2 separate regions of the Homo sapiens genome follow, and region 1 is linked to region 2. Evidence: promoter capture Hi-C in 16 types of primary human blood cells and fetal thymus (Javierre and others, 2016). All regions are on one chromosome and are shown on one strand. Each heading gives the region's core, a stretch centred on a gene start or on the middle of the fragment in contact. The rest is flanking DNA. Distances are from core to core; before and after follow the strand shown. Region 1 holds the start of QARS1 (glutaminyl-tRNA synthetase 1). Region 2 holds the start of TREX1 (three prime repair exonuclease 1).

Region 1 (3,782 bases), core at 1-2,500, 640 kb after region 2:
GCCTGAGCCCAGCCAGACCACTTTAAGTCACTCCTGTTCCTTCCCCCACCTCCTTCTCACTCGTGCCCAGAAGAAAAGGCATGACCAGAGAGAACAATATAGCCCCGTTCCAGGCCCTGCTCACCCATCAGCAGCCCCATGTTGAAATGGTAACGTTCCACCAGGAGCTGGGGCCGGTGCCTGTTAATAGCAGCCTCCACCTGCAGAAAGCCAAACCATGTGGTTCAGGAAAGCCACCTTTAGAGATATTCTGGGAACCCACACCCTCACTCTGGGTCTTCCTGAGGAGGGAAACTGAGCCACTCCTTTCCATGGCCAGGACTGGGGAGGCAGACGATGCCTGGGGAAAGACTCACAGCCTCCTCAATCTGCTCTGGGGTCACAATGACACCCACGCCACATTCCCGCTCGAAGTCCACAGTGTCGATGGGGTCCAAGGGGTGACTCCGCACATACTCAAGGGCAGCTGAGAAGAAAGAGCCCGTGAGTTTGTGGCATCTCTGCTCCAAGAAGTGGACAGACAGGGTCCTAATCTCATGAAACTCCAAGGATAGTCTGGCCTCCTGAAAAGTTAAGCCCTGGCACCACCACCCTAGAGAACACAGGGAAGAAAGAAGCACGTGTCGAGAGTGGATCCCCCCTCAGACCCTGACAGTTCCCGTGTCAGTCTCACCATAGGCCACCCCTTCCATGCCTCAGTGCCTGTGCAGAACTAGGTGTCTAGAAAGAAACTGGAGGACTTGGCAAAAAGGGAAGACAGGGGTCTTGGCTGAAGGGAGGCATTGGTGCGAACTGGCAGGACAGGTAGGGGTCTCACCGCTTAGCTGGGGCTCAGTGTGGATCTTCTTACTGGCTATGTAGCTTACAAGGAAGGAGAGACGCCGGGTATCCCTGAGTCGGGAGGCCAAGCCATATAACAGGATCCCGGTAGCTTTGTCAATGGTGGAACCCAGGGTCTGCTGAGCCTGAGGTCAGAGGGGTCAAGAGAGAAGCCCCGCGCTCAGTGAGAGGAAAGGGCGGGACAAACGGGGCAGGTCGGGATCTGGACCCCGCCCCGCGCTGCGTTGCAGCATGGTCTGCAAACCAGGCCGGGGGCAGAGGGGCTCGCACCTGAGTAGCGGCCTCGCGCAGCTGCGCGCTCAGAGCCGAGTTCTTGAGCGTCTCGCGGGCCTTCTGCTCGCTCAGGCCGAGGCTAGTGAAGAGCGACAGGGAGTCTAGAGCCGCCATTGCAGAGACACCGGAAACTAAAAGAAACTTAGGCCCCAGTCTGCAGGTCGGCATTCACTCGCTGACCAATGAGAGTGAAGCCTCCGGGGAGAGCCAATGGGGTCCTTCCTTGGCGGGAGGGGGCGGGGCGCTCCAAGGTCGTCTATCCCCTTTAAACAACACAGGGCGGACAAACCGGCCTTTCCGGGGGCTTTGCTTCCGCCTCCGTGGAACTGGGAACTTGAAGGGGTGTTGGCAGGCGGCAGGGCTTTTGGAGATATTTGCCACGGACCTGGAAGGAAGGTGTTCGTCCCTGAGGCAGGAGGAAGACACAGGCGTGGTTTTGCTCTGACTTTTCTACTTCAGCCCTGGTAACTCCATCTCAATATAGTAATTGTCCTCGGGGGCAAATGCGAGTCCCTGTCACGCTTTTGACGCCACAGCTTTGGAGTTGTCATGGAAACAGTTGAACAAATGAAGCCCAGGAAATCCCTCATCCAGACTCCATCGTAGAGAATGTGTGGAATGACCGATCCAGGGGCCCCATAAGTCCGCCGGTTTTCAGGTGCCCACTTGGACACAGCTGGCCAGGAAAGGGAAGGGACGGGTCTGGGCCAGGAGGGACCTCACATAAGTTCTATGATGATTTGGTTTAAAATCTTGGCCGGGCGCAGTGGCTCAGGCCTTTAATCCCAGCACTTTGGGAGGCCGAGGCGGGCGGATCACTTGAGGCCAGGAGTTCGAGATCAGCCTCGCCAACATGGTGAAACCCTGTCTCTACTAAAAATACAAAAATTAGCCGGGCGTGATGGCGCACGCCTGTAATCCCAGCTACTCAGGAGGCTGAGGCTGGAGAATCGCTTGAACCTGGGAGGCGGAAGTTGCAGTGAGCCGAGATTGTGCCACTGCACTCCAGCCTGGTCAACAGAGTAAGACTGTCTCAAAAAAAAAAAAAGAAAAGAAAAAAAAATCTCATCCCACACTTACCCTCTTGCCAAAGCATTATCAGGAAAACCACAAGCAAATTAGACCTTGAAATCCCTCTGCAGGCCTTTGAGAGGATATTTTATTGAGCTTGTGAGAGGGTGGGACAAATGAGATGGTTATAGCTTCATGATTATAGCTGTTGTGCTTGGGGATCTTTCCACAGTCTCACTGGACTTCCAGGACCTGCTGGCTGAAACAGAACAGAGACTTTGTGTGTGTGTGAGAAAAGGGACTAAGGTAGTAAGGGACTGAGGTAGGGGGTTGCAGAGAATGAGCAGCTGGTGGTGGGATGGTGGAAATCCCCACATTTGAGATTGGAGCTCTTGCAGGAATTGGTGATGCTCATACTTCTGGACCTTCAAGGAATAGGCAGGATCCTGACTAGTCTTTATCTATATTCTGTGTCTTTTGTGCCCACATCCCATTATTAATGACCAACCTCCAAGTCTGGGCCTACATCTGGATACCACCTAATGATCACATGCCAGGTGCAGACCAGGGCCACATGCTGTATCGCTATCCAGGTCCAATGCTGTCCTGGGGCTTCCCACATCTCCATGGCCCCGTGGCCCCAGCCAGATGCCTAGCCCTGCAGTGTACTGCATGAGAAAGGCCAGGTGCAGGAATTAAGCAGGGGATGCAGACCAGTGGTGCTAAGGACAGGTACCAAGAAGCAGAGCCATAGCCACACCAGCCGTGCACCAAATTTGAAGCTGCAAGTACCCAGCCCACCATAAAGGTGCCCATGGTGAGCAAAGCCATGCAGAGTGCCTGCCACTGCCACTATTTCCTCAGTACCTGATGCTGCCAATAGATTCACTGTAGCACCATCACCAAGTCCTACAGGTCTAGTGATGGCTCCCTCAATGAGATCAAGATCTGCACTCCCTTCCCTGGTTACTTCATGGTACACTGTGGACGCCATGGCTACAAGTCATAGAATGAGGCAGTAGCCCCACCAGTGTCACCAAGAATGCCACAAGTGGTAGCATACCAGTCGATATCCAGCTAGTGCCCTAGATGTCTACGACTTGCACAAAGCAGAAATGTTAAATTGTATGGGCCCAGTCTGGAGGTTAGCTTGCCTGCATAAGCCCCTGGCACTGCTTCCAGGAAAAGTCAAGACAAAGATGACCAAGTGGAAAAACCAGGCAGCAGCCAGCAAGGCCCAGTCGTGGAATGGACAGAGGTAGGGTCCAGCAACCTCCTGGGCTCAAACGATCCTCCCATCTCAGCCTCTGAAATATTTGGGACTACAAGTGCATACCATAAGAGCCAGCTAATTTTTATATTTTTGGTAAAGACAGGGTCTCACTATGTTGCCCAGGCTGGTCCTGAACTCCTAGGCTCAAGCTATCCTCCCACCTCGCCCCAAAGTGCTGGGATTACAGGCATAAGCCACCACACTTGGCCAGTTTCAGCAACTTTTTTTTTTTTTTTTTTTTTTGAGACGGAGTCTTGCTCTGTCGCCCAGGCTAGAGTGCAGTGGCGCGATCTCGGCTCCCTGCAACCTCCGCCTCCCAGGTTCAAGCGATTCTCCTGCCTCAGCCTCCCAAGTAGCTGGGATTACAGGTGCCCGCCACTGCACC
Region 2 (3,077 bases), core at 578-3,077:
GGTGACACATGAGTGCTTGTCCTGGGTCTTCCCTGGGAAGGTCCCACACCACTTCTTGGACCCCATTTGTGCAGACAAACAGTTGCTGAAGCAAGTGAACTCTTATAGAAGCTTAAGAAAACCCTCGCAGGGACTGGTCTCCTTCTGCCCAGGATGGAACCAATCTGTTCTTGTTCTAGGTGGTGTGGCTCCTGGCTAAGCTTGGTGTGCAGAGCCCCTTGCCCCCAGTCACTGGCTCCAACTGCCAGTGTAATGTGGAGGTGAGTGGGTAGGGGCCAACAGCTGGCAGCTCTGGTGGTAAGGGGGCCCCGTGCAAGGACTGTAGGCCCCACTGCAAACCCCCTCACGTGAGGTGGCTAGGCTGAGCGGATTGTTAGGGTGCAGGCCATGGTGGCACCAGGCCTCAGTCTGCACCCCCCCTCTCTCAGGTGGTCAGAGCGCTCACGGTGATGTTGCACAGACAGTGGCTGACAGTGCGGAGGGCAGGGGGACCCCCAAGGACCGACCAGCAGAGGCGGACAGTGCGCTGTCTGCGGGACACGGTGCTGCTGCTGCACGGCCTATCGCAGAAGGACAAGCTCTTCATGATGCACTGCGTGGAGGTCCTGCATCAGTTTGACCAGGTGATGCCGGGGGTCAGCATGCTCATCCGAGGGCTTCCTGATGTGACGGACTGTGAAGGTAAGCCTGCCAGAGGCCATCCTGCCCAGCCCCCATGGCTTCTTCCAGAGGTTCCCCAACAAGTCAGATTCCTGGGTGTCCCCTCAGCAGGCCCCCGCCCACTGCAGCCTGTTCCAGCACTGGGGCCATTTTCTTTTATCTTCCTGCCTCAGTTCTTCTCCAAGCATATTGGGATGCCTTTTGCATCTATCTGTTGAGTGTGCCTGGCAGAGCCACGGTTTTTCCAGAAATAGCCGTGTCTGAATTGCCTTTGTATCACTTTGTTTGCAGTAGCTGAGGGAGCAGGGCCTGGGTGTGGAAGGGACTGGTTAGTTCCTGCGGACGTTGGGGGAGGAGAGGTGGGACCTGCCCTAGGCCCTGGCACCTTTGGGCCCTCACCAGGAACCTCTCCTTTTTGTCTCAGAGGCAGCCCTGGATGACCTCTGTGCCGCGGAAACCGATGTGGAAGACCCCGAGGTGGAGTGTGGCTGAGGCCCTGAGTGTCCAGCCACATGGTGGCACCAGCACCACTCCTTTCCTTACCACATCAACTGATTAAAGCAGTGACCAGCAGGAACTGCCCAGAGAACTGGCTGGCCTTGTTTCCTGAGTCTGATCTGTTTGGCGGAGTGGGAGGGGTGGAGCAGGACCCGGACCCTGAGTGGCTGGGATCCTTCTTCCTGTCCCTGGCTGTTGCTGAGCCCGTCCCCATGGTAACTGATCTGCCTTGAGGAAGGAGCCCTGCCCTGCCTGTGGAATTGTCCTGAGTCATTGCTTTGGGCTGGGGCCATGGGAAGAAACCATTGTGTGGCAGGGAAGGAGGTGGCTCTTGGCCCAGGCCTAAACCAGGAAAGCCTGGGAAACTGGGACCCACAGGTGGGCATGAAAGGGCCGCAGCAGGGGCTCCCAGCAGTGTGTAAGACCGGGAGCTGGTCTGGCACCACTGCCCTGGTCCTTCCAGCTGCCTGTCACTGGTATGATGGCCCCGGTGCATTGTGCCACCAGCAGGCCACAGCTGTGGATCTTGGAAGGCCTCTGGGGTCCCCCGGGAGCAGGGGAGTGGGTGTGGGGGGGAACGGATGGTGGTGAGAGGGACAGACCAGGCAGGCTGACGAGCAGGGCGGGCCTGGCTCACGTGGGCCTGTAGGCGGGCCCACGCCAAGTTTCACTTCCCGCCACTGCTGCCAGCGAGAGCCGCGGGAGAGTGTGCAGCCGAGTCACTACTGCCTGCCTGCCTGCCTGCTACGGTGAGTGTGGCCCCCACAATGGGATGGCGCAGGGCAGGAGGGCCATGGGTTCCCCCACCCCAGACTAAGGGGGCACTAGGGGAGGGGCCGAGTCATGTGAAGAGGGAGACCCTCTCAGACAGTCGAATGTGCTGGTCCCACTAAGGAAACCACCTCACCCTCTCCAACTTCCTGCCTGAAAATGGGCCCTGGAGCTCGCAGACAGGGCAGGATTGTGCAGGGAAGGCCTGAGATGTGCTTCTGCCCACCCCCTACCCCACTCCCTCCCCTTCGGATCTTAACACTGGGCACTCACACACCCACCCCATGCTCCTCTCCAGGCTCAGCAGCAGGTACGTACCCAACCATGGGCTCGCAGGCCCTGCCCCCGGGGCCCATGCAGACCCTCATCTTTTTCGACATGGAGGCCACTGGCTTGCCCTTCTCCCAGCCCAAGGTCACGGAGCTGTGCCTGCTGGCTGTCCACAGATGTGCCCTGGAGAGCCCCCCCACCTCTCAGGGGCCACCTCCCACAGTTCCTCCACCACCGCGTGTGGTAGACAAGCTCTCCCTGTGTGTGGCTCCGGGGAAGGCCTGCAGCCCTGCAGCCAGCGAGATCACAGGTCTGAGCACAGCTGTGCTGGCAGCGCATGGGCGTCAATGTTTTGATGACAACCTGGCCAACCTGCTCCTAGCCTTCCTGCGGCGCCAGCCACAGCCCTGGTGCCTGGTGGCACACAATGGTGACCGCTACGACTTCCCCCTGCTCCAAGCAGAGCTGGCTATGCTGGGCCTCACCAGTGCTCTGGATGGTGCCTTCTGTGTGGATAGCATCACTGCGCTGAAGGCCCTGGAGCGAGCAAGCAGCCCCTCAGAACACGGCCCAAGGAAGAGCTATAGCCTAGGCAGCATCTACACTCGCCTGTATGGGCAGTCCCCTCCAGACTCGCACACGGCTGAGGGTGATGTCCTGGCCCTGCTCAGCATCTGTCAGTGGAGACCACAGGCCCTGCTGCGGTGGGTGGATGCTCACGCCAGGCCTTTCGGCACCATCAGGCCCATGTATGGGGTCACAGCCTCTGCTAGGACCAAGCCAAGACCATCTGCTGTCACAACCACTGCACACCTGGCCACAACCAGGAACACTAGTCCCAGCCTTGGAGAGAGCAGGGGTACCAAGGATCTTCCTCC

What was found. Contacts are between HindIII fragments. The CHiCAGO score rates a contact against its expected background, and 5 or more counts as called.
Region 1: a contact is called between the fragment with the promoter of QARS1 here and the fragment with the promoter of TREX1 in region 2, in 1 of 17 cell types (non-activated CD4 T cells). The highest score is 5.2, in non-activated CD4 T cells.

The regions. Positions count from the first base shown.
Region 1 is chr3:49,103,507-49,107,288 of GRCh38, forward strand. QARS1 (glutaminyl-tRNA synthetase 1) reads right to left here and starts at 1,251. Exons shown (of 24, transcript NM_005051.3): 1 at 1,111-1,251; 2 at 818-965; 3 at 357-466; 4 at 125-200. The coding sequence starts at 1,227. RefSeq lists enhancers at 1-473, 1,023-1,212, 1,423-1,582, 1,776-2,425. The HindIII fragment of the contact is 7,394 bases long and covers 1-3,782 here.
Region 2 is chr3:48,464,403-48,467,479 of GRCh38, forward strand. TREX1 (three prime repair exonuclease 1) reads left to right here and starts at 1,828. Exons shown (of 2, transcript NM_033629.6): 1 at 1,828-1,907; 2 at 2,228-3,077. The coding sequence starts at 2,254. It overlaps ATRIP (ATR interacting protein), which reads left to right. Exons shown (of 13, transcript NM_130384.3): 11 at 180-260; 12 at 429-681; 13 at 1,085-3,077. The coding sequence ends at 1,152. It overlaps ATRIP-TREX1 (ATRIP-TREX1 readthrough), which reads left to right. Exons shown (of 15, transcript NR_153405.1): 12 at 180-260; 13 at 429-681; 14 at 1,085-1,907; 15 at 2,228-3,077. RefSeq lists enhancers at 1,054-1,143, 1,756-2,637, 2,224-2,423, 2,638-3,077. The HindIII fragment of the contact is 3,980 bases long and covers 199-3,077 here.